Linked DNA regions of Homo sapiens: all the other regions are linked to region 3. The links are contacts of gene promoters, found by promoter capture Hi-C in blood cells and fetal thymus (Javierre and others, 2016). All regions are on one chromosome and are shown on one strand. Each heading gives the region's core, a stretch centred on a gene start or on the middle of the fragment in contact. The rest is flanking DNA. Distances are from core to core; before and after follow the strand shown.

Region 1 (3,478 bases), core at 677-3,176, 310 kb after region 3:
TAAAGCTGAATTTCTGGAGACTGTCAATGTAAACTCCCTTGCTTTGTAGATATGAAAAGGCAGCCTAGAGAATGACAGCTTTGGGTGAAAGCCATAGTGTCCCCACAAGTAAATAATGGTGAGCAGAGTGCCTTGCATATAGTAGGTCCTCGATAAATATTCACCGTGATTTACTTACTAGATGGTATGTAAGCTAGTGGTTGGAATATTTAAACATAAACACACAGACTCAGAATGTTGAGAATGTGCTCAATTCCTTTCTGCAGTGAGTTTTAAATTTAAAGATTCCTTTGTGCTCCCTGCCTAGCCTGGAGCTATTGCTGCGCTCTTGGCAACATCCACCCGGCTGAGCCCAGCAGCCCTTGCCCTGGAGACAGAAATTGCCCCCTTTTTTTTTTCCTTCTTTTTATTTTTTTTTGGCACAGGGTGTGTTGAGACAGGTTGAATAGCCACCCTGGAGTTTTGCCAGAGCCACAAGATGAGGAAGGTCAAGAGGCAGAAGAGAGCAGGGTGAGGAGATGGGGGTGGAGGAGAGGAAGTTTGACATCATGTGGCTTGAATGGCTCAAAATGCTGAAATGCCAGCATTAGTTCAAGCAATTTAGACTTTCAGGAAGCCTGGCCTTTCCCCCTAGAGTCGTTTGTTTAGTCCTGTCTGGTGGGCTTGGCTGGCGGATTCCACAAACTCATGATGAAAAAGTTCTCCAGGCAGAACAGAGATGTGGCCTCCATTCCTACAGGGTAGACAATCAATTCCAAGGGCCCAGCATCTCCTATGAACCCAAGGTCACTCAGATCAAGTCCCCAGGGTGGCAAATGTCTGGCATCAATCGGGGGTTGGGGGGGCGGACACTGAGTTTAGTTCAAGGAAGTATTGCCAGATTTTGTGTGTTCTTCTGTGCCACTGATGGATTTGAATGAATTTGAACATGCTGCACGGTTTGACGCACGTCAGAACTGAAAGAGAAGGCAGAGTCCAGGTGAAGAGCAGGAACGTGGCCAGATTGCCCAAGTTAGAATGGGGCTCTGTTACTAGCCAGCTGGAGATGTCGGCTGCTGACTTGGTGTTCTCTACCTGAGTTTCCTCATTCAACACTGAATCCCCCGGCTCTGCCCTTCTTTCATCTGTAGCCCCAGTACCTTTTAGCAAACTATGTAATTTACTTGTTTGCTATGTTTGTGATTTACTGTCTGTCTTCCTCATCTCCTGCTCTGAAAGGACAGACATCTTGCTTGTTGTGTTTTGATGCATTCCAAGATTCTGGAAGACTTGGAAGACAGCAGGTGGTCCATACACATTTGTTGAATGTGAGTAGTCACAGTACCAACCTCGCTGTGTTGTTATGCAGGTGAGATGACTTAATACTGTCATATACGCAGGGCAGTCCCAGCCCTGAGCAGTGTGCCCTGAACTATATTTCAACACACAGCGAGAGCTGGATCTCTCGAGCAATCCCACGTCCCGTGTCTCGGCAGGCCCAGGACAGTTCTGCTTTTAACCTGTTTCCTGGAGTAATTGCTAACAGTGCTTCCTTTCAGAAAAAAAAAAAAAAAGGCTCATTTTAGCTAGTAAATTATATGGTTTGGCTACATGTAAGTGTTTTTACTCATTCATTTAAGAAACTGAAAAAAAAAAAAAAAATCTGCCAGCTGGCATGCACCTACAGTCCTGGGTGCTCGGCAGGCTGAGGTGGGACGATGCTTGAGCCCAGGGGTTCAAATCTAGCCTGGGCGACATAGAAAGACCCCACTTCTACAAAAAGCAGAAGAAAGAAAGAAAAAATATTGAATGGGTACCATGTTAGATGCTAAGAACAACGACCATAGTTCGTTCCCTTTTAGAGCTTACTGTCTTCTGGAGAACTTGCAAAATTAAATAATTCAAATTTAAAACTGTTGGAACTTTATTCTGAGCCTTGAGAGAAATGGACTGAGTCACATAGCATGCCGTTGCAACTTCTGCTTTTTCCCGTAAACGATTAGGAATGACCGAGTAGCACCAGAAATAAGACCCTCTGAGTGGTGACCCCTCAGAACATTACTCTTGTCCTCACAGAACATTACAGCCATCTTCCATGGAATGGAGCAAGCCACCCTAATCAAATCGCTATGACATGTATCTAGCCTTGCACGGAAAACATTGCAACCTGCCGAAACCATCTCTACCTATGTAAGCACAGCCTTAGCTTCCCCACTTTAGAGCATGTCCCTTTGGGGTCTGTGTTTTCCGGGTGACCGTTCTCAAGCTCTGTACTCAAATAAACCCCATACTTCATCATATTTTCTGTATCACCTTATTTAAGGTCAACAAACTTTAAGGACATAATTAAGTAGACAACCTCATGACTTGAACACATGGTTAATAGTAATAATTGGATTGACATCCATATAGTTCTCCTCTGTTTTAGGAGAGGGCTGGTTTTTTTTTTTTAAATATTGATCCATTTTCGTGCTTTGTATAGTAACCCAATGAGGTAGAAGTGATTACCGCCACCCTTTTACTGATTACAACACCTGGGGTTCTGAGCGCCAGCCACTTGGTGAGGATTGCGGGGCCAGGGCACTCTGGTCCCAAAGCTCTGATTCCCACGGGCTTTCCTGCTGAGTCACGCTGTCTGCTGGGAGCTGTTGACCCGCCGTCTCTTTCTCTGACTTCCACCCGATAATTCTACATGGCTCTGCAATAAGCAGCTTTTTTCTTATTATTTCCTACAAATACATAGGTTACACTCTGATTAAAGGCAGAATACACATCTTGAATTAAGGGGAAGGCTGAAGCCTGGAATTCTTCCCATCTCTAATCCTGCCTGGTCACTGAAGTTCCTGAGTCCTCAGCTCAGGTCTGAGGCAGCCCTGCCCAGCAGGGACGGAAACTGCAGCTTTTTCATGTTCCTCTGCCTCCCTCTAGTGACTCAAGTCCAAAATAGTGCGGCTGGGAACTATTGGAAGAACACAGACGCTGCAAAGAAGCTGGAAACCATCATTCTCGGCAAACTAACACAAGAACAGAAAACCAAACACCGCATGTTCTCACTCATAAGTGGGAGTTGAACAATGAGAACGCATGGACGCAGGGAGGGGAACATCACACACCGGGGCCTGTTGGGGGATTGGGGACTAGGGGAGGGATAGCATTAGGAGAAATACCTAATGTTGATGGGTGCAGGAGACCACCATGGCACGTGCATACCTATGTAACAAAACTGCGTGTTCTGCACATCTACCCCAGAACTTAAACTATAATTTTAAAAAACCCCAAAAGAGTGCAATTTCAATGCCAAAAAAAAAAAAAAAAAAAAAAGCTGAGCTTCATCTATTCCTTCCGCTCTTTCCTCCCTCACGCCTACCATGTGTGAAGCACTGTACCCAACATGAAGGACACAGACAGAAAAGCCTGACTCCGCATCTCCCTGCTCGGGTTGCCTTGGCAACTTCTCCGTGTACCCAAAGAAGCAAAGGGGACTTAACAATTTCAAAGA
Region 2 (3,239 bases), core at 686-3,185, 490 kb after region 3:
CAAGACAGTAGCGGAAATGAACATGACAACGCGGATGGTGGGTGACAAGAGTCTTGCCTGGATATTGACATTTTTAAAGTGTAGAAGAAAATCGCAGGTCACTGAAACAAAGGCTGATGGTGCCCAGCAGGTTACTCTTGAAATCAGAAACAGAAGTTCATGAGAGGCAAGAAGACAGAAACAACAACTGAAAAACTTAGAGTGGATCGCTAACTTGCAGGAGCTGTGCAGCTTTGGCTTTGCAGGTTTTAGAAGCTCTCCCTACGCCACGTCTTTAAATATATGTATGTTCAATCAGCAGGAGGAAGGGACTAACAAGAGCCTTCTGCGGTAAGCACCTGCATCAAACAATGGCACTGATCTCAGAGGGATTTTAAACAGCTGTGCATAAACTTCAAAAGTAATTTGCAACCATATTAGTAAATGTCACTCTTCTTCCCGCTAGACACAGCACTTTTAAAAGAGATTAAGCATCCGCAGTAAGCCTGCCATTTTACAAGGGTTACCAAAGATAAGTTAGGGAAAATATGAAGATGATGATTCACAAGGTCGGGGTGTGGGGTGGGGTGGGGGACCCAGGACCTTAGGAATAGGGCTTGTCTATCACACAGCCTCGGGCAAGAAGGGCCCAGTGGGGACCATGGCTTCTAGGGAGCAAACCAAGGGAAAAGAGCAACGGAGTGGACCCTCCAGGCTTCTTGCCTCTCTCACGGAGCCTCACGAATCCCAGTGGTTTAGAATTTTCTTTGGCAAAAGAAAAGGTCAAAGAGGCCGGAGTTGACAGAAAGCATGGGCGGACTTCTCAGATCTTGTAGGTGGTTCTTAAAAGAATTCAGCAGGCTTGAGGTGTGCTCTCAAAGGGCAACTGGAACGTCAAGGACTTGGACACCAGGCACAGATGGTTCATTTCCCATGGACAGGAAGAGGGCACGGAGTGCTCCCTCTTCCCTCCACCTTCTCCAGCCTAGTCCCCCTCAGCCTGTGCCACTCCTGAATCATCTTTTATAGCACCACGTCCAGCCCGCACAGGGGCAGGACAGCCCAGGGAACAAGGCAGTCCTGTGGCGCTCTCCTTGCAGAAATGACCGGAGTCTCCCAATCCAGCCAGCCCGTGGACCTCTCTTCATGCCCACGGGGGAGTGCACACGCCTGTAGCATTCAACAGTCACTCTCCCATTGATAACGGTGGCTCTCGAAAATCCAATACCACAAAGATACTTTATTGCACAAACTTTGCTTGGTTAACCTGGCCCTCAAAGCTGGGGAATAACCTCACTTGAGGCTACAGGAATGAGCACGCAGATTTTTCTTTTTTTTTTTTTTTTGGTATCTTTCAAAGACCTGCCTCCCCCTCCCCCAGGCCCTTGACCAGAAACTTGGCTTGTTTAGAAGCCTGAGCAATGGCACCCCCGTCCGTGCTCCAATACATTCCCAGAAAAGGGGTTATGCTCCCCTGTGGACAGGATACCATCTCCAGAAAACATGTTTCCTCACGCATTTTTTTTTTTTTTTTTTACCAAGAATACAAAAACTTTCCACCTTCTTCCCTCCCCGCAGGCCCCCTTTCGTTCAGGTGAGAAGGAAAAGGGAGAAGAAAGGAGGAAGCGCCCCCAGGCCGGCGGCCCCCACCCGGCTAAGGTCGCCAGCATCCCGCATCCCGTGCGACCTGCGTCCCAGAAACCCAGCGGGGAAATTCTTCCCGGTGCGCTCTTGCGCCCGCTTGGTTCCATTTCCTACTCCGCCTGCTCACCCGGCAGCCCTCACCCCTTCCCGGAGGCTCTCCGAGGGGCCCGGGTAGCCCTTCTCGCCACGGGTCTCGGCCCCTCCAGCCCGCTCCCTCCCGGCGGCGGCGCGGGGCGCGGGGCCCTACCTGGAGCGAGCACGGCGCCGCTGCTGCCCGGTGGCGCTGGGACTGCGCGGGGACTGCGCGGGGACTGCGCGGGGACTGGCGGGGCTGGCGGGGCTGGCGGGGCTGGCGGGGCTGGCGGGCCCGGCGCACTGCGGGTGCGCCTAGAAGGCGGTGCCCGCCAGGGGGCGCTCGCCAGCCTCCCCGCCAGCCCGGCCTCCCGGGACCCGGCACCTCTAGCCAGGGACGCGCGCTCGGTCCCCCGCCGTGCGCCCCCGGTCCCGCGCCCAGGCTCCCGCCCCTGGCCTCCTTACCAGCCACTTGTCGCCCAGCTGCGAACTGGAGCGGGAGGCGGCGGCCGGAGGGCCCAGGACAGCCCCGGGAGGGCGGCGAGGCGGAGCAGGAGCGCCCCGGCTCCGGCCACATTCTCAGAGTCAGGAAAAGGGGCGAGAGGCCACATGTCTCCCTCTCGCCCAACTGAAAACGAAACGGCGCTCCAGCAGATTGGGTGGAAAGAGCTGGGTCTCTTTTCTCTGTTTTTCACGCTAGAAAGGGCTTGTAAACATTGTTCCTTTTAAAATGACCTACCCCAGGCATTTGTTTGGGCACACTTCTGTCCTGGGGTCATCGTTCCTAGGTGGCTTCGGACCTGGGACTTTTCCTGTATCTGCACATTGTCGTTTTATACACAATTGCCAAGGTGGGACTGCTTTCAACTTTACTGTGCTTGAAGCTGCAAAGGTAATGTTGCCGCCGTGCGTGTCATTTTAGGACTTTTTATGCCTTGCGGGTAATACTAATGATGGTCACAGGGAGGATAAACGGGGTGGTTTCTTTTTCTATACTCCATGTAACTAATTTCTCATTCAGGTTAGAAAATTATATGTCTGGTTACTAATATTCTTACTGAATGGTTTCCTTGCAATGATGACACCAAATAATTAAAACGTACTTGATTAAGACTTTTGTTGCTGTAGTGTACTAAGATCAGATTAATCTGAGAAGTAAAATAGTAATTTTTTGTCCTTTTTTCTTTTCTTGTTTTGAGAGAGACATTAAAAACGATTAAAACAAAACAAAACAGGCCAGGTGCGGTGGCTCATGCCTGTAATGCCAGCACTTTGGGAGGCTGAGGCGGGTGGATCGCTTGAGGCTGGGAGTTTGAGACCAGCCTGGCCAACATGGCAAAATCGTGTCTCTCCTAAAAATACAAAAATTAGCTGGGTGTTGTGGCACGTGCCAGTAATCCCAGCTACTCAGAAGGCTGAGGCAGGAGAATCGTTTGAACCTGGGAGGAGGAGGTTGCAGTGAGCTGAGATCTCACCACTGCACTGCAGTCTGGGTGACAGCAAAACTCTGCCTCAAAAAAAAAAAAGGTTTAACAAAAGCCAAA
Region 3 (3,112 bases), core at 404-2,903:
TCCAAGTGTTATTTAAGCATTTAAAAATTTTCAAGGGGTAGGCATGTTTTATTTTCTGTTTTTTCATTAATTTCTACTTTTATTGAATTGCTGCAGATAATATTACCGATATGATTCTACTTATTGGACTATGTTAAGATTTTTCTCTGTGGTTTAAAATATGACTAATTGTTGTGAATATTCCTTAGACACTGGAAAAGATGTAATGTCTATTTAGGGGACAGTGTTTGATATATTAGATCTATCATAGGAATTGTATTTTTAGGTCTTCTCAATCCCCATTTACTTTTTGTACTCTTCGTCTGGCAAGGAGTGTGCCAATTATTTCTGTCTATTCACTCACTCCTACAGTGTTTGCTATGAATAATGAGATTATGTGATTTGGTGCAAAGATTTTCCTATTTTTCCTATTTTTTTCTTGATTGTGAATTGTGCTCCTCAAGATTATAAAATGTCCTTCTTAATCTTACTTAATGCTTTTTGCCCTGAAATCAACTTTGTAGTAAGCGGTTTGTGATTCCTGATTTTTTTAATTTTTTTGCATATTCCTGGTATATCTTTTCCAATCTTGTATTTTCAAACTCAGAATAACGTTAGCACTTTCTTGTATACAACACTGAGTTGCATGATGGTTTGTGCTCCTATCTGAGATTGTAGTTTTTTAGTAGGTAAGCTTAGGTCTATATTTCTTCTTGTGAGACATTTGGTCTTGTTCTGTCATATAGTTTGGTTACGCTTTCTGTTTTGTAACTTTTTAAAATATTTCCCTATATATATATTTTTTTTGCTGTGGTTTTGTGTGTGTGTGTGTGTGTGTGCATGCATGTATGTGTGGGTGCATGTATGTGTGGATTATTTGAAAGCTTTGTAGTTTTGTTCTGGGTTACCCTCAGAATCATACCATCCCATGACGTCCTTAATCCTCTATTTCTTTAGATTGTCTTTTGTCTCTCCACTGTATTTCTTTTTTCCCCCTTTTCCCGTTTTCTTAATGACTGGATTTTAATGGATTATAGTAACTTTCTTGGTATACTCCTTCGGACTAAGACGTCTGCTTAAATCTCTACTATTTGATTTATCGGCTTGAACTCTATTTGACACCCAATTAATTACAGATGTAAAAATCATATTTACCCGAAGTCCCACTTTCCCTTTCCCTCCCTGCTTCTGTCAGCGACGTCGTTTTTAAAGACCGAGGCTTTATAGCATTGACATTCTTTTCTGTACCCCTAATCGCGGCATCTGTTTCCATAATCTTACGCTTAACCTCGTGCTCCTTGCCATCCTTTTGCAGCATCTGGCCTATGCAGACTTATTTTCAACTTTTTGCTTATATAGGAGTGGCTTTGAATGAATGAGATCGAGGGGCCTGGAGGGACTTCCCCCACCTCCCCTATCAGAAAGCCCGGCCTCGGACCACTTCTCCTCCTCACCATCTGGGGGCGCTGCCGCGCTCCCCAAGCCTTGTGGAATTTCGAAAATGTGCGCCAGGGCGACACCTCTTGATGGTAAGAAGACGCCGGCGGAGGGGAGCGTGCAGTGCGGTCCTCCCGCGGGCAGGGGGCAGTGCGGCAAGGCGCCCTCGGCGCAGGCGCAGAGGCCGAAGCAGGCGCAGGCGCAGGCGGGGCGCAGGCGCGGGCGCGCTCTCCCGGCAGCCCGCGCTCCCTGACCCCGCGCCGCCGAGCGCCCTGAGGACTCAGCGAAGGGTGGGCGCCGCCGAGGCCTCCTGCCGCTGGCGGGTTTCCGCGGAGTGCCGCCCGGCTCCGCTCTGCCGCCGGCGCGGCTCATGGGCAGAGTCGGCCGGGCGGGCCGGGTAAGTGGCGCCCCGGCGGCCCCGGGTGGGTGGCCTGGCGGGACCTGAGGCGGGCGCGCCTTCCCGGGAGGCGCTAGACGCAAGCCCGCGGCTTTAGGCCCGTCGCGAGGGGCGGAGGCCGGGCCAGCGCAGCCGGAGCCTCCGAGGGTCTCAGTCCCCGCGGCGGGCGCTGGTCTCTCCACGCGGCTGCGGCCCGGTACCCTCCGCCCGCCGCCGCCTCTGGTGACCCTGGCCCTGACCTTCTCCCTCTTCCCTTCCTCCTCCTCCTCCTCATGTCTGCCTCGGGCTGTTTGGTGCTGAAGAGCGTTTCTTCTCCGTCTCGTGCACCGCATCCTGACGAAATTGTCTGGTCACCAGAACCGAGTAGCCCGTAGCGTGTCCCCCCTGGCCCTGCACGGTTGCCCCTCTCTGGGGCTCGGAGCCGGTTCCTCCCGGGGTCTCAGAACTGGGAGTGCAGACGTTGGCGTTTCTCAGACTCCGGAGCTGCCCGGGACAGGAATGCAGCCCTAACCCCGGCGTCGCCTCGGCTCGTGCAGTTTGAGCGGTGTTTCAGCGCTCACGTCCGACCCCAGGCAGTCTTTGAGCTTCGCCTCTTGCCCCGAGAATGTGTAATGATCGGAGAATGCAGGTGGAATGAGGTTCTGCCCCTGCTTGCAGGAGTTTGGTTTCTGGGAAAGCAGGCGTGAAAACCCAGGCCCGGGTTGATTTGAGAAACGCAAGTGGGGTCTGGAAGGACCTCTCTTGAGAGAGGAGGTCATGCTTATGTTGAGTCTTGAAGGTACGTTGTTAGATGTGAGAGGTGGGAAAAAGGCTGCCGGCGGAGGAAGTAAGTGCGAAAGTAGCAGAAGCGAAGCCCCGTAGTGCGTTCTGGAAGCTGCAGGTTAGGCAGAAAGAAAGGTTTGAGGAGGGGCTGCTGTGTTTCCAGGAGTAGTCAGGTCAGAACATGGAGGTTTCTTGAGAAGCAGTAAAGAAGCGCCATTGAGGGTCCTTATTTTGCTAGAGCCAGGCATATGGATGGGAAATAGGATATTCTAGATAAGGGCAAGATTCGCATATACTCAAATAGATGGGTAGATGTGCACTGGCTCCCCGCAGCAGATGGAGTTTTTAAAAGGATGCAACACAAGTTTCCACATTTTTAGTTGTAAAGGCTGCAGACATTTTGATCGTAATGACAGCTTTTAGGGAATATGGGGTAACAGTTTAGTGAGCTAAACGAGAGGGCTTTATTTTTAGAGTTAGTTAAGCAAGGTGCTGCGTGCTGTCCAGTTTATAACAGAGCAGGTTGTGCGGTTGTGG
Region 4 (3,238 bases), core at 200-2,699, 370 kb after region 3:
CATCATTTATCCATCCATCCATCCATCCATCCATCCACATCCATCCATTCATCCATCCATTCAACCATCTGTTCATCCATTCATCATTCATCCATCATTTGTCCATCCATTCAACCATCCACACCCATCCATCCATCCAAATATCTGTTCATCCATTCATCCAACCATCTGTTCACTCATCCATCATCCATCCATCCATCTATCCATCCACCCCACACAATTTAGTCAGTGCCTAGGTACAAAAATATTTTAGATACATTGCAGGCCTTACACATATAAAGAAAAATTTAAAAAAATTCTGCTAAGAGTTTTAAAATAATATTCTGGTGAGTATTTCTCAATTTCCTGAAGATTAAAAAATTATAAAACAGATTCTTAATCTATGATTTTGTAGATAGACCAAAAAAAATTACATTCAAAGAGGCTGCTTAAGAATACTTACTTCTCAAACCTCCTCTAAGCCTTTAGTTGTGTGACTCCAAATAGGGCAACCCTCACTTGACTGCACCCTCAGAAAATGGAGAGATCCTTCCTTGTTAAGTGAATTCTACACTCTGTAAGCACCAAAGCTTCAATACTAATTATCTGCTCTCCAGCAGCTCAGCCATCCTCCTCACTAGATCCTTTCTTTTTTTTCCTTTCTATTTTTCCTCCTAATCTGCAGTGAGTTGGAAATCTGACAGTAAGCTTGTAAAGGTTTGTATGTTAAATAAGTGCCAACTACATTTTGAGAAAAGAAGTGAGGAGATTGAGATACAATAGTGTCAATCTAAGAGCTTGGACAGAAGAACGTGAAATGATGTCATACAGCAGAGAAGAAGAAAATTCCATAAGCATTTCTAGGTGGCTCAAAGCAAAGACAAGCAAAAATAAGAGGTATGAAGGGGACAAAAGAGAAAGAAACCGTAAGGTATGATAAGAAAGAGAAAACAGGACAGTGAAAATGGGAAAAGGAAGGTGAAAGAAGGAATTCAAGTGAGAACCAGCATAAAGGACAGAATGAGCTCAGCACTTTCCTGCTGTTGAGACTGGAATGTCTTCCTTGGTTGTAAGTCATCATCCATGTAATCATTGTGGGCAGCAGACCTATGTGTGGAGCTTACTCCCAGGAAATCACATGGGCTGTCTCACAGCACTCGGTGCAATGATTAAATTAACTGAGCCAGGAAAGCCGATATCTTAGCATTTGTTTCCACAAAGCAAAATTTACCTGTAGACTATTCCTTTGGAATGAAGGAACTGCAGACCAAGAATGATTTCAGCAGCATAAAACCTGGGGGAAGGAGAACCAAGGTTCAACATGAATGTTGTCATGGAACGAAATAAAATCCCAAACCCAGACTGACCTTTTTCTGACATGCTGTGTATGGCTAAATGGCATACACACATAACTCTGTTTAATCCTAACAAGGAAGATGTTGTCCATTCATTCTACACATAAGAAAGTAGAGGCTCAGACACCTCCAGCCTCAGTCCTAACAGCATAAAACAGAGCTGGCATCTTAAGTGAGTCCTGCCTGTATCTAGTACTTGTTCTTATATTTTAAACAATAATGCTCACATTGTCATTTTTTTTGTTGTTTTTGCTATTGCTAATAAAACATACACAGACATTAAAAGTAATAGTATAGGCCAGGTACGGTGGCTCACGCCTGTAATCCTAGCACTTTGGGAGGCCCAAGCAGGTGGATCACTTGAAGTCAGGAGTTCAAGACCAGCATGGGCAACATGGTGAAACACCATCTCTAGTAAAAATACAAAAATTAGCAGGGCATGGTGTTGGGCGCCTGTAGCCCCATCTACTCAGGAAGCTGAGGCTTGATAATCACTTGAACCTGGGAGGCAGAGGTTGCAGTGAGCTGAGATCACACCACTGCACTCCAGCATGGACGACAGAGCAAGACTCTGACTCAAAAAAAAAAAAAAAAGTAATAGTATAGATAATAGGCAAATAATTTCTCCCTTTGTTTTAAACTCTGGTTGGCACCCATAGACCTGTATGCACCATTCTGAATAGAACTAGCTGGTTTATTTTCGTACTGAGAACCTTTAGCCTGGGCAACACTTACAGCCCATGAGGTGGAAAAGAGGATATTAGCAGATGCAAGATAAGTTACACTTCATCTTCAATGGTGACAAGGTTAAAGGAAATGAGTTTACCCCATCACTGGTGGGATTAAGGTCGGATATAAGAGATAGCTTCCTGGAAGGGAAGCTTGCTGGATCTTGTGGAAGAATGCAAAATTCTCCTTCCTGGAAGGCATTTAGGACAGGATGGATAGCGTGGGTCCGGGCTGGCTGGAGACGACAGTGGACTAAGTGAATTCTTTCCGGCATGAAAAATGCCCGATGATTTCTCTGCTGCAGAAATCCAGTAAAATTACCTCTGGGTGCATTGCTGAGGTTTCCCAGAGCAATGATCTCAGCAGAGTGCTACCCACTAGATGTGATAAACAGCCATTCCAGCCAGGGATTTTAAGAAGCTGGCGGACCAAATCCATTTCTCAACCCACTTCAACCTAAACCACTCAAAGTGTTCATGCAGATGGGAGGGAGGGATTATTGAGCGCTGAGCAAAGGAAGCTAGCATGTACTCATCATTTTCCAAGGAGCCCAGTGGCAGAGCTTTCTTTTACTTGCATGTCATGGGGAGCAGGAAGTGGGACCCAAAGGGAACAGCATGGGCAGGAGTGGTGGTGAGAACTGTGGATGCAGGTGCAGTCCCACCAGGTACACACAGCCTGCCCCGTCTCCAGGTGTCTCAGGCTGCCGGCACTAGGAAGGAGAAGCTTTGTTCTCAGATGGACTAAGTGCCTCTTCCTGCTCCCTAAAGCTTTATGCCTCCACATCAGGCTTTCCATAAGATGCCTCAGCTACAAGCTCCATCCCTGGGGACCACCCTTGAGGTCTGCAGTCCATTTCACTGCTTCCTTTCCAAAGGTTACATATTTGCTTCTGTGCTCAGGTTAGTTAGAAGCCTGATGAATCGGGATGGTTCCTTAAGAAACTAAGTAGTTAGTTTTAAATCACAGAGAAATGAAACCAAACTGACACGAATTTCAGTTTCACAACCTGGGAAAACTGTCGCCTTGCTCGATGTATTCCCAAGGGTTCACCTGGCCCTGGGATTCAGGCATGCCAAGTGGGAAAAAAGGAAAAAAAAACCAGCAAGAACTGACAAGAACAGTGGAAAACTCCCAAACCCTTTAAAGCCTCTTACGTCGCTCTGGAAAGGTCG
Region 5 (3,430 bases), core at 39-2,538, 340 kb after region 3:
CCAGAAAGCGCTCTAGTGAGGACTTTAGATAGCGTCTTCACCAACCCCATTGCTCTAGTGAGAAGGGACTTTAGATAGCGTCTTCACCGACCCCATCACTCTAGTGAGACGGGACTTTAGACAGCATCTTCACCTCCATTACTTGGAGGCCCCAAAAGATGAAATGACTTGTTCAGGGCTTCACAGCAAATGCAAAGCAGAGCAGAGATCAGAACAGAACGGGCGGCTCCCTGCCCTCCACTGGCCCATCCAGGGCCTTAAAGGACCCTCTCCCTCCTTCAAGCAGGTGAATTTGGTAAACATGTGTGAGCATTTTCATTTGGAGCAAGGGGAGGACAAGTGTCGCCTTCTCACATAACTAGAGGTTTGTAGTCATGGTGCTATTTTCAGAACAAAGGGCCCGGACACCTGAATGGACACATCTGAAGATAGATGCCCATCCTTAAATGAGGTTACTCGTGTTCATTTTAGGGGAGTGTCTATTTAAAAAAAATCACAAGAGCTCCGTATAGTCAGGAAAATGTTCCAGCACACCTGCAGACTGTCAACAGTCTGCTTATATTAATTATTCTATTTTAAATATAATATCTAAAGTTATTTCCAGCCATGTGATGAGGTAGGCTAGTGACTCCGAATATTATGCAGACTTGCTTTTCTTACAATTGCCTTAATGTCATCTGACTTCCTCACCCTTTGTCTTACTCTACTCCTGCCTCAGCCTCCCAGGTAGCTGGGATTATAGGCCCCCGCCACCACGCCTGGCTAATTTTTGTATTTTTAGTAGAGACAGGGTTTCACCATATTGGCCAGGCTGGTCTCGAACTCCTGACCTTAGGTGATCTGCCCACATTGGCCTCCCAAAGTGCTGGGATTACAGGCGTGAGCCATCGTGCCCAGCCAATCCCCCAACTGTAAAACATCATCTCAATGCTAGCTACATTTTGAGGACTGACACAGCAGAAGCAAGTTCTTGTGGGGGGCAAGCGGGGAAGTAAACGATTAAGAGGACTCTTTTTTTTTTTTTATTCCATTTTTACACATCCACCTGTTTGCCATGAAGTCACAACATTTTATCAAAATATACACACAGCACAAATACCTTTAAAATGTATGGTTGGAATTCTAATTCAACTCAATTGACTGCTGCAAACAGCATGCATGGGCCATTGATCTTGAATGATGCCTACGGAGGGGCTTATGAGTCATGAAATCACCAGTCATGGCACGAGAAGGGGTTAAGGTTCTTTTCCCAGGAGACTTATGCACTTCATTTCTTTTCTTGTTATAGTGTGAGAATGGCAGTGAGTGACTGTGCCAATACTGGAGTCTGCTGAGAATGGGTGGATGGAAAGGTTTTTACTGGCAAGGGTGAAATGATACTATCTTTTCTATCTTGACAAGATAACAAGCGAAGGTGTCTAGCAAACCTTCCCTCTCACTTTCCACTTGTCCTCTTGACCATGGATTTCATGCCCAATCAGGATGAATGGATTTGTAGATCTCAAGTTACAAGCTATGTTTATTGTAAAGAATTCCCATAAAAACCTATCCAGGGCTGGCCCCCCAGCCATTTACACATCCACAGATAGGAATAGAATAAAACGGGTTAGTGATTACTTGTCTGCGGCTGAGTGAGATCCGCTACTAGACCAGGCAATGGGGCCGTTTCAGTCTTGAGACGTCTGTACTCCGTTTGCCCCTGATTCAACAAGCATTTCATTGATCAGCAGTTGGCGCCCAGGTGAAGAGCCATAATTTATTGCAGTATCAAGTCTTGAAACCTTTCCAAGTGCGGAGACCCATCTTTCAAGTAAATAACTATGGTTAGTAATGACCTAACTTCAGGAGCGTCTGTGAGACATGTCAGGAGACGAGACACACGGCATCGTCATTAGTGAAGTAGACTTGGTTTCTGCTACAGATAAAAGTCACATGGGGGCGAACGGGTCTCAGTCTTTATTGTTGAGTGTTTCTTTCTTTTTCCAAGTTGAAAAAGGAACCCAAGCAGTGTCTCTTGAACCAGTTCCCAGGGAGAAGGCAAATTCTTTCCTGTCTCTGGAGGGGCAAGATTCAGGATATCAGCCGCTCCATCCCGGGGTTCATGAAGGAAAAGTTCCTGAACATATTCTGGTCCATGCTGTTGATCAGTGCTCTGTCGGCAAATGACAGCCGGGGCTTCTCGTTTAAGAATTCTTTGTCGAAATTGCTGCAGTCAAATGGTGATTTCTTAGTCAGAGTTTAAGGGAAGAAAGAAAGAGAAGAAAAATCAGCCATTAAGTTCATGATCTTCACTTTTGTTATCTAGGCCGTGATCTGCGTATGGCAAAGTTGGTGTTTGCAGAGACACTAAATGGAGGCAATGCCTACAGATGACCATGCCCAGCTCTCATTGAACATGGCTGTGATCCTGTGTCCTCAGCTTAATAATAATATAAATTCATAAATTCACAGAAAGACTACGACTGTAGACATTCAAATGGGATCTAATGTTTCTAATGGTTTACATGAAGCAGGGTTGGCAACCTTTGAAAAAGTGATCCACCTGAATTTGACCTCTGCCTCTTCAGTTTTCATGGAACACAAGGTGGGGATAAGGGAGGGTGGTGGGGAGAGGGAGTGAGGGGGTGTGAGCGGAGGGATGGGAAGAGAGAAGGAATTTCACAATTACATATTCCTGTTCTTTTATCAACGTTCTTGGCTGTTGTCAGTCCCCTGCCCTTGTTAATTTTATTAGTAAGTATCTTGGGCTTTTTTAGACAGCACAGACTGGGACAGACTCCTTTCAGACCACTTGGTCCATTGGTTTTCATGGCAAAAAAACCAAAACCAAACCAAACAACAGAGAAAGGGAAAGCAAACATCTATTTCATACATGCTGTTCAGTATGGTGTTCAATTCAGTGTCCCAAGATTGAGAACAACCATTATCAACAGAAAGTGCTATGAACACAGAGAAGCGAAATGAAGAACCAGGCCCCTCCCACCCTCCAAGGGGCCCTGGGGCTGTGAGGTCAATGGCAGCTCAGACCACAGGTCAGGGAAAGTTTCCTACTGGCAGAACTGGGAATGTCCTTTAGGGTAAGCTTAGATCAAAGTTTTGATTTTTATGTGCAAAATATTAAGTCAATTTTAATCTGCAGTGGAAGGTGAGACATGGTTTAATAGTTCTGATAGCTAAAAACAAGGTAAAATTTTTATTTTATCACAAATGACTAACCCACGTATTAGATGTGGTTCTGTCACAAGTAATTAGAGTGCTTGAGGCTGGCCTGTTGGGTCCTTGGAACATCACTGGAGCTTGGGACAGATGTTGAGAACAACTATTCTTGCCCTGGGAATGAGATGCACCTGCTTCTTCTGGCCATTCGCTATCATGACTAATAGCCTGTGCGTTCTCTGGGGTGGAATCTGTTGGGAAGTCCATGAGCCTG
Region 6 (3,503 bases), core at 999-3,498, 400 kb after region 3:
GGTGCTATGACATCATGCAGTCTTAATCTTATCTGCTGATTTGCACATGTGTGTGCAAAGAAGCTTAGCACAATGACTGGCATCGAGCAGGCGCTCAACAAATACAACTTCCTTTTCATCTTCATCATTTATTGCATAGATGTAGATATTAAAATATTTAGGTGAAATTTGGGCAACCCTCACCTGTAGTTTTCACTGGTCCACTCTTCTTCAAATAGCTCAATAATAAAATAAAGCAGAATTTTCTATGTAAATAACTATTACTTTTTTTTTTTTTTTTGACATGGAGTCTCGCTGTGTCACCCAGGCTGGAGTGCAGTGGCACGATTTTGGCTCACTGCAACCTCGGCCTCCCGGATTCAAGAGATTCTCCTGCCTCAGCCTCCTGAGTAGCTGGGATTACAGGCGCCCATCACCACACCCAGCTAATTTTTGTTTTTAGTAGAGACAGGGTTTCGCCATGTTGGCCAGGCTGGTCTCCAACTTCTGACCTCAAGTGATCTGCCCACCTCGGTCTCCTAAAGTGCTGAGATTACAGGTGTGAGCCACCGCGCCCGGTCAACTATTAACCATTACTAGACCGAGTATATAGGCATAGATATAGCCAGAAAAATTCACCTGAAGCAAAATCTTTTCTGCATATTTAAAATCTTTGTTGTTGTGTTGTTGTTCTTGAGACAGGGTCTTGCTCTGTTGCCCAGGCTGGAGTGCAGTGGTGCAATCATAGCTCACTGCAGCCTCAAACCCCTGGGTTCAAGCCATCCTCTTGCCTCAGCCTCTTGTGTAGCTGAGACCACAGGCGTGCACACCACTACACCCGACTAATTTTTTTATTTTTCGTAGAGATGGGGGTCTCACTTTGTTGCCCAGGCTGGTCTCAAACTCCTGGGCTCAAGCCATCCTTCCGCATTGCCCTCCCAAAGTGCTGGGATTACAGGTCTGTTACCGTGCCCGGCCTAAAATCTTTACTATAGAAAGGATTTTTTTTTTTCATGATTGTGCTCCAAATTCCACATTGTCGGCAAAACTCGCATAACTCACATTCGCCCTATTTAGAAGGTGTCAGGTTTCAACTTCGGTAGCCCCAGCTCCATTTTCTTATGCATCACCGTGACACCAAGTGAGGTTGTCAGCTAGGATTGAACATAGAGGGATGGAGTTTTACTTTGCTCCTTAAAACTGTAGCCACATCTAGGCTTCTCTGTGACTTGCATGGCCGCGAAGAAAGGCCACCACCATCTCCACGAGAAGGTCCTAAGTCTTTGTTACTAACCTATCAGGCCGTAACTCAGTTTCTTGGAGGGCAAAGAGTCCCTTTGGATGACTATTTTCTTGGGAATTATTGTGGGGAGAAAGAGAAGGCAGGGTAAAAGGCTAAGGAGGCCCTACTTAAGACGACGGCCTGCAAGGAGGCAGGATGAAAGGGAGGCAGAGAGGGAGGGAAGAGAGCTGGAGAAGAGGGCGAGAAGAGTCGAGAAAGGAGGACGCGGGGGCATGCGGGGTGAGCGGAGCAGGCGGGGTGAGCACAGTGGAGGGGCAGGGACCCGGGAGTGTCAGAAGCAAGAATGGAAAACAAACCAGGGCAGGGGAGGGAGAGGAGAGGGGACAAAAGAAAAAGGGGAGGGGAGCACTTGAAATGTAGGTGGTAGGAGAGAGCGGGGAACAGAATGGAGCGGAAAGGAAAGAGTATTCAAGGAAAGAAATGAAACGAAGCAGGCAGAAGAGCCATGAAATAACGCCCAGGAACCCCTGGGAAGTTCTAAGCTGTGCCGCGGCGCTGCTGGGACCAGCTCTTCTTGCAAGTGGATTCTCGGGCTCCCAGGACAGAGAACCCGACCTGAGACCATCACAGGAGAACCAAGAGGCGAGAATTTCTCCTGTTTCTGTGGATACCGTCAGGATGCAGGATGCCGGGACACTACGTTTTGTCTCTGACCTCCTAATGAACTCTTAATACCCTGCCTATCCATGTCTTCTTGAACAGGGGTGTAGAGAAAAGCGTGTCAGTGTCCTTTGGGGCCAGGAACGGATTCTTGAGGCTAATGTTGGCCTCCTGTGATGTCTGCTTTAGGTAATGATTTGAAAACCTAACCCCTCCTGCCTCCACTGAGAGGTCGCTCTGGGTTCCACCAGACATGTGAACAGGATTGGGATGAAGAAGGGGAGAATGCGGAAGATGCTGTGCCGCCTTCCATCACGTACCTCATTGCTCAAAAGAGAGGACATACATTAGTCAGTAGCACTGATCAAAATAGGGCTGCCAAGAAAAAATAAAGTGGCTTATATATTTAATACTTCATCATAAGAAAAGGTCTGTGCTCACCAGGCATGGTGACTCACTCCTGTAATCCTAGCACTTTTGGAGGCTGAGGAGACAAGATCGCTTGAACCCAGGAGTTTGAGACCAGCCTGGGCAACATAGCAAGACCATACCTCTAAAAAAAAAAAAAAACAAAGAAAAACAAAAAAAACAAAAACAGGCATGGTAGCACATGCCCATGGTCCCAGCTACTTGAGAGGCTGAGGTGGGAGGATTGCTTGAGTCCAAGAAGTCAAGTCTGCAGTGAGCTGTGATCGAGCCACTGCACACCAGTCTCCAGTCTGGGCAACAAAGTGAGACCCTGTCTCAGAAAAAAAGTAAAAGAAGAAGAAAAAAATCAGAAGCTGTCTGTATGCAACAGGTGGTTCTCCTTTTGTGGCTCTATTCTCTGGGCTCTGCCCACGTCTCTCCCCAACCAGAAAGCAGAGTGCCTTGTCAGTTCTTGAGGGTTTTTTTTTTTCTTCCCTAGTCCTTAATCCTAGTGTAACAGCATCTCAGCTTCTAAACGTTATCGCCTTAGCAACTTGGAGTTGTACAGCAAGAAAGCCTTGCCTTGTTTCCTTTTTTGATGGTAGGTCTGAGAAACTCCATCAATAATGAATGGCAGGTTAGGCTCTGCTGCGATCCTGGCCTTGGAGGAAAGACCAGAAAACAGGCAATGACGGTCACAACCGGGCCAGCCTCTTACTGGGCACTTGGAGTTCACAGCAATGGTTTAGGGATGGATGCTCAAGCTAATGTTACAGAATTTCTGTGCAGGACCATGTGTCAGCCAAATGAATGTGCTGGGCTTGCTCCTTGATGAGATGACAGAAAGAATCTTACTGGCTGGTGCAAAGGAGAAGGGTTAGGGTACCACACAGCTAGACCTGTTGGGATTAGGAAGGGGCAGCCCAGAGCCCACTGAGGAAACTAGTAGTAGAAAGACCAGTGAGAGGAGAAACACTGTCTTCATTTCCCCCAGGGCTATGGTACGGCAGAAGGTGATGGAGCTAGGAGTTTGACCTTGAACCTGAACTGTTGTGCTCTTTTCTGGGATGTGTGGGTGGGGGTGTTGCAGGGTGCAAGGAAAGGAACATAGTGGCTTATTGCCCCAGAAGACCATACTTATGATCATGACTTGTCTGGGCTGGGTGTGGAAGTGGTACCCCCTACATCCTCCCTCCAGTTCCCCAGAAAGCCT
Region 7 (3,578 bases), core at 469-2,968, 360 kb after region 3:
GATAGCAAAGTGCTCAAATCTAGGCCGGGTGCAGTGGCTCACTCCTGTAATTCCAGCACTTTGGGAGGCCGAGGCTAGTGGATCACCTGAGGTCGGGAGTTTGAGACCAGCCTGGCCAACGTGGTGAAACCCTATCTCTACTAAAACTACAAAAATTAACCAGGTGTGGTGGTGGGTGCTTGTAATCCTAGCTACTCCGGAAGCTGAGGCAGGAGAATCGCTTGAACCTGGGAGGCAGTGGTTGCAGTGAGCCAAGATCATGCCAATGCACTCCAGCTTGGGCAACAAGAGAGAAACTCCATCTCAAAAACAAAAAAAACCCCAAAGCACTCAAATCTAGAAATGAAAGATCTCTAAGAGCTACCTACAGCTCGATAGCGGGGTCTGAGTCTATCTGTTAGGGAGGAGGATTTAAAGTCTGGAAGCCTACCTAACATTTTGAAAGATTCCTATCCTTTCACCAACCCACTCTTCTGGCAAAAAAGGCTTTGTATGTTGATCTTTCAATGAATTCCTTTTTGGACATTGGAAGGTAGAGGGCACGCGCCATTCTGCTCAGCGTCTGACATCCCAACAAACTGTGCCTAAGCTTCTCTGAGATGGTACATGGTAGGACCCATCCATGGATGAAAGAAATAAGGAAAATGTGCCGGTGGGTAAATTACCAACGGAAATAAAACCAGTATGTAGAGGAGACAGCTGCACTTGCTTGCTCATTGCAGCTTCATTCACAATAGCCAAGATATGGACTCTAAGTGTCCATCAGTGGATAAATGGATACAGAAACTGTGCTATATATACACAGGGGAGTATCAGCCCTGAAAAAGGAGAAAATCTCTACTTGCAACAACATGGATGAACCTGGAAAACATGATGTTGAGTGAAGCAAGCCAGGCACAGAAAAACAAATGCTGCAAGATCTCATTTATATGTGAAACGTAAACACGTTGAACTCATAGAAGCTGAGAGTGGCAGTCGCCAGGGTCTGGGCAGAGGGTAGGGAGGAGGGATAGGGAAGGCGTTGAAGAAAATGTGGTACCTCCACACAGAGGAATATTATTCAGCCTTCAAGGTGAAGGGAAACCTGTCACATGCTACGTGAGTGAACCTTGATAACATTATGCTAAGTGAAGTAAGCCAGGCAGGGAAAGACAAATACTGAATGATTCCACTTACATAAGGTACCTTAAGTATTAACAGAAGTTTTTGCCCTTACTTTCAGTGACAAAAACCGTAACTACTTCTGCACCAACCTAATAGTTAAATTCTAGAGACAGGAAGTGGAATAGTGGCTGCCAGGAGCTGTGGGGAGGGGGAATAGGGAGCTGGTATTTAATGGGGACAGAGTTTTGGTTTTTCAAGATGAAAACCTTCTGGAGATTGATTGCACAACTATACAATACACTTTATTTTATTTATCTATTTATTTTTGAAATGGAGTCTCGCTCTGTCACCCAGGCTGGAGTGCAGTGGCACAATCTCGGCTCACTGCAACCTCTGCCTCCTGGGTTCAAGTAATTCTCCTGCCTCAGCCTCCCGAGTAGCTGGGATTACAGGTGCATACCACCATGCCCAGATAATTTTTGTATTTTTGGTAGAGACAGGGTTTCACATGTTGATCAGGCTGGTCTTGATCTCCTGACCTCAAGTGATCCACCCACCTCGGCCTCCAAAGTGCTGGGATTAACCGCACCTGGCACTATTTTTAACATTACTGAACTGTACACAAAAATAGTTCAGATGGTAAATTTCATGTTACGTGTATTTTCCCACAATTAAAAACAAAACCCTAGGACATAATAGTGGCACATAAAATTTTTTTTAATGGAAAAGAGGGAAAAAAAATCTTCGTTAATTCATGACTGCTGCTCCAAGGATGAGTTGCGGGCAAGTTGCTTTATTAGCCAAAACAAAATGGAGAAGGAATAATAGGATTGAGGCACTAAACTTAAAAGCAAGACAGTCAGACTCTCTTGGGGATGAACATCTGTTCTACCTTGTAATGTGTTTGGGCTTAGCTGGGTGCATCTGTGAACAGACACACATAAATACACACACACACACACACGCACGCAGAAGGTATTTTTTTGTTGGCGCTACTCGTATGACATGGAATTTTTCTCTTCCTTCTCTAATGGGCCTTTGGAATGAATGGCAGAATTGCAGCACTGATGGCCTTGAAAAGAAAATGACACCACAATTCCAGCCATTCTCCCAGCCCTTTGGGAGGCTGAGGCGGGTGGATCACCCGAGGTCAGGAGTTTGAGACCAGCCTGGCCAACATGGCGAAACCCCGTCTCTACTAAAAACACAGAAATTAGCTGGGTGTGGTGGCGCACGCCTGTAATCCCAGCTACTCGGGAGGCTGAGGCAGGAGAATCGCTTGAACCCGGGAGGTGGAGGCTGTAGTGAGCCAAGATCGCGCCTCTGCACTCCAGCCTAGGTGACAGAGCAAGACTCTGTCAAAAAAAAAAAAAAAAAAAAAAAAAAAATTCCAGACATTCCAGTATTTTCTAGGAAAGCCAGATGTTTTGATGTCGGTGAGCTTTTTTAGATGGAGCAGACTGATGTGCACGGCAACCCCATCCCTGACCCTCCACCACCCCGGGGCCCACTCCTGGGAGACAGATCAGTGCTAAGTGAGGCCCAGGGGTGCTGTGAAGTCTCTCTAAGGCAGACTTGCTAAACAAACAGAAGAACAATATCAACAGCAGCACAAGAGTTTTTCTGGCCATGTAAAACGTCACAGGCTCTACTTCTGGCTTAATCCCTTATTGTGTAGTTTTGGGAGGACCCTTTCACCCTTCTTGTTTGTGAAAAACGGGAATCATATCTGGCCCGCTTCTTATAAGCTTCTTGTGAGATCCAGTGAAAAGTAGCAAAGTCAAGATGATTTGTCTTATGGGACAACTATAAATGTTATGATAAATATCTGCTTTGATGATGCACTTGTCCCCGTTTCTGAAAATAAAGTTGCAAACAGAATTTTGCAATGTTACTGATTTCCAATATAAAAATGCTACCCACTACTCTTACCTCGATATTTACATGCTAAAGTTTACTTTATAATTTAGAAAAAATAGGCTTTGCCTTAAGGAATCATCTGAAGGTAGACCCAGGGAGAATGATAAGGAAATATAAGATGCACCTAATACAATCTTTGCTCAATTTGCTGGGCCAGGGACACATGCAATTTCCGAGACTTGCCCACAAGGCGGCGTCAAAGCAACCAGAAACGTCTCTGAACCACATATCTTTGTAAACAACTTCGTTTTGGCAGGACAAACAAAAAGAAAATTTGGAAGGACAGGAGACAGCTGTGGTGCAAATTAAGGCTTCAAAGCTTGGCGATGTTGGTAAAAAATTTCAGTTTTACCTTAGGAGGAAGAAGTAAAACGCAAACTCACACGTGCAGCAGAGTGTTCGCCTCAGGAATACTGATATGTGTTAGGAGTTTTGCAGACGTTATGTCTTTTATTGATAAGAACCCCCCTGAGCTAGGCACAGTTATCCCTCTCCTATAGGGGGTGATGATTGGGCTTAGAAAGGCCAAAGGTCTTACTTAAAGTCTCCTAGTT

What was found. Contacts are between HindIII fragments. The CHiCAGO score rates a contact against its expected background, and 5 or more counts as called.
Region 1: a contact is called between a fragment that was not itself captured here and the fragment with the promoter of RBM17 in region 3, in 17 of 17 cell types (M2 macrophages, non-activated CD4 T cells, M0 macrophages and 14 more). The highest score is 20.3, in M2 macrophages.
Region 2: a contact is called between the fragment with the promoter of PRKCQ here and the fragment with the promoter of RBM17 in region 3, in 1 of 17 cell types (fetal thymus). The highest score is 6.5, in fetal thymus.
Region 4: a contact is called between a fragment that was not itself captured here and the fragment with the promoter of RBM17 in region 3, in 1 of 17 cell types (neutrophils). The highest score is 5.7, in neutrophils.
Region 5: a contact is called between a fragment that was not itself captured here and the fragment with the promoter of RBM17 in region 3, in 2 of 17 cell types (neutrophils and non-activated CD4 T cells). The highest score is 6.8, in neutrophils.
Region 6: a contact is called between a fragment that was not itself captured here and the fragment with the promoter of RBM17 in region 3, in 1 of 17 cell types (neutrophils). The highest score is 7.4, in neutrophils.
Region 7: a fragment that was not itself captured here is called in contact with the fragment with the promoter of RBM17 in region 3 in 1 of 17 cell types (neutrophils); the score reaches 6.2 in neutrophils.

What each region holds. Positions count from the first base shown.
Region 1 is chr10:6,399,094-6,402,571 of GRCh38, forward strand. It overlaps LOC124902370 (a long non-coding RNA gene), which reads right to left. Exons shown (of 2, transcript XR_007062044.1): 2 at 1-2,708. It also overlaps a transcript of PRKCQ not described here. Among named protein-coding and RNA genes, the nearest start is that of LINC02656, 51 kb to the left of the region's middle. The HindIII fragment of the contact is 5,114 bases long and covers 1-3,478 here.
Region 2 is chr10:6,578,341-6,581,579 of GRCh38, forward strand. It overlaps PRKCQ (protein kinase C theta), which reads right to left and starts at 1,936. Exons shown (of 18, transcript NM_006257.5): 1 at 1,871-1,936. It overlaps PRKCQ-AS1 (PRKCQ antisense RNA 1), which reads left to right and starts at 2,085. Exons shown (of 2, transcript NR_036503.1): 1 at 2,085-2,587. RefSeq lists silencers at 1,938-2,187, 2,198-2,347. The HindIII fragment of the contact is 7,587 bases long and covers 1-3,239 here.
Region 3 is chr10:6,087,381-6,090,492 of GRCh38, forward strand. RBM17 (RNA binding motif protein 17) reads left to right here and starts at 1,654. Exons shown (of 12, transcript NM_032905.5): 1 at 1,654-1,813. RefSeq lists enhancers at 1,306-1,355, 2,312-3,112 and silencers at 1,516-1,955, 1,966-2,055, 2,326-2,385. The HindIII fragment of the contact is 5,297 bases long and covers 862-3,112 here.
Region 4 is chr10:6,461,093-6,464,330 of GRCh38, forward strand. It overlaps PRKCQ (protein kinase C theta), which reads right to left. Exons shown (of 18, transcript NM_006257.5): 13 at 3,221-3,238; 14 at 1,211-1,273. Among named protein-coding and RNA genes, the nearest start is that of LINC02656, 110 kb to the left of the region's middle. The HindIII fragment of the contact is 1,528 bases long and covers 686-2,213 here.
Region 5 is chr10:6,426,137-6,429,566 of GRCh38, forward strand. It overlaps PRKCQ (protein kinase C theta), which reads right to left. Exons shown (of 18, transcript NM_006257.5): 18 at 1,012-2,226. The coding sequence ends at 2,071. Among named protein-coding and RNA genes, the nearest start is that of LINC02656, 78 kb to the left of the region's middle. The HindIII fragment of the contact is 3,583 bases long and covers 1-3,080 here.
Region 6 is chr10:6,488,124-6,491,626 of GRCh38, forward strand. All of the region lies in intron 8 of PRKCQ (protein kinase C theta), which reads right to left. Among named protein-coding and RNA genes, the nearest start is that of PRKCQ, 90 kb to the right of the region's middle. The HindIII fragment of the contact is 4,374 bases long and covers 62-3,503 here.
Region 7 is chr10:6,442,658-6,446,235 of GRCh38, forward strand. The region is part of intron 15 of PRKCQ (protein kinase C theta); the gene reads right to left. Among named protein-coding and RNA genes, the nearest start is that of LINC02656, 94 kb to the left of the region's middle. RefSeq lists an enhancer at 234-403. The HindIII fragment of the contact is 2,263 bases long and covers 588-2,850 here.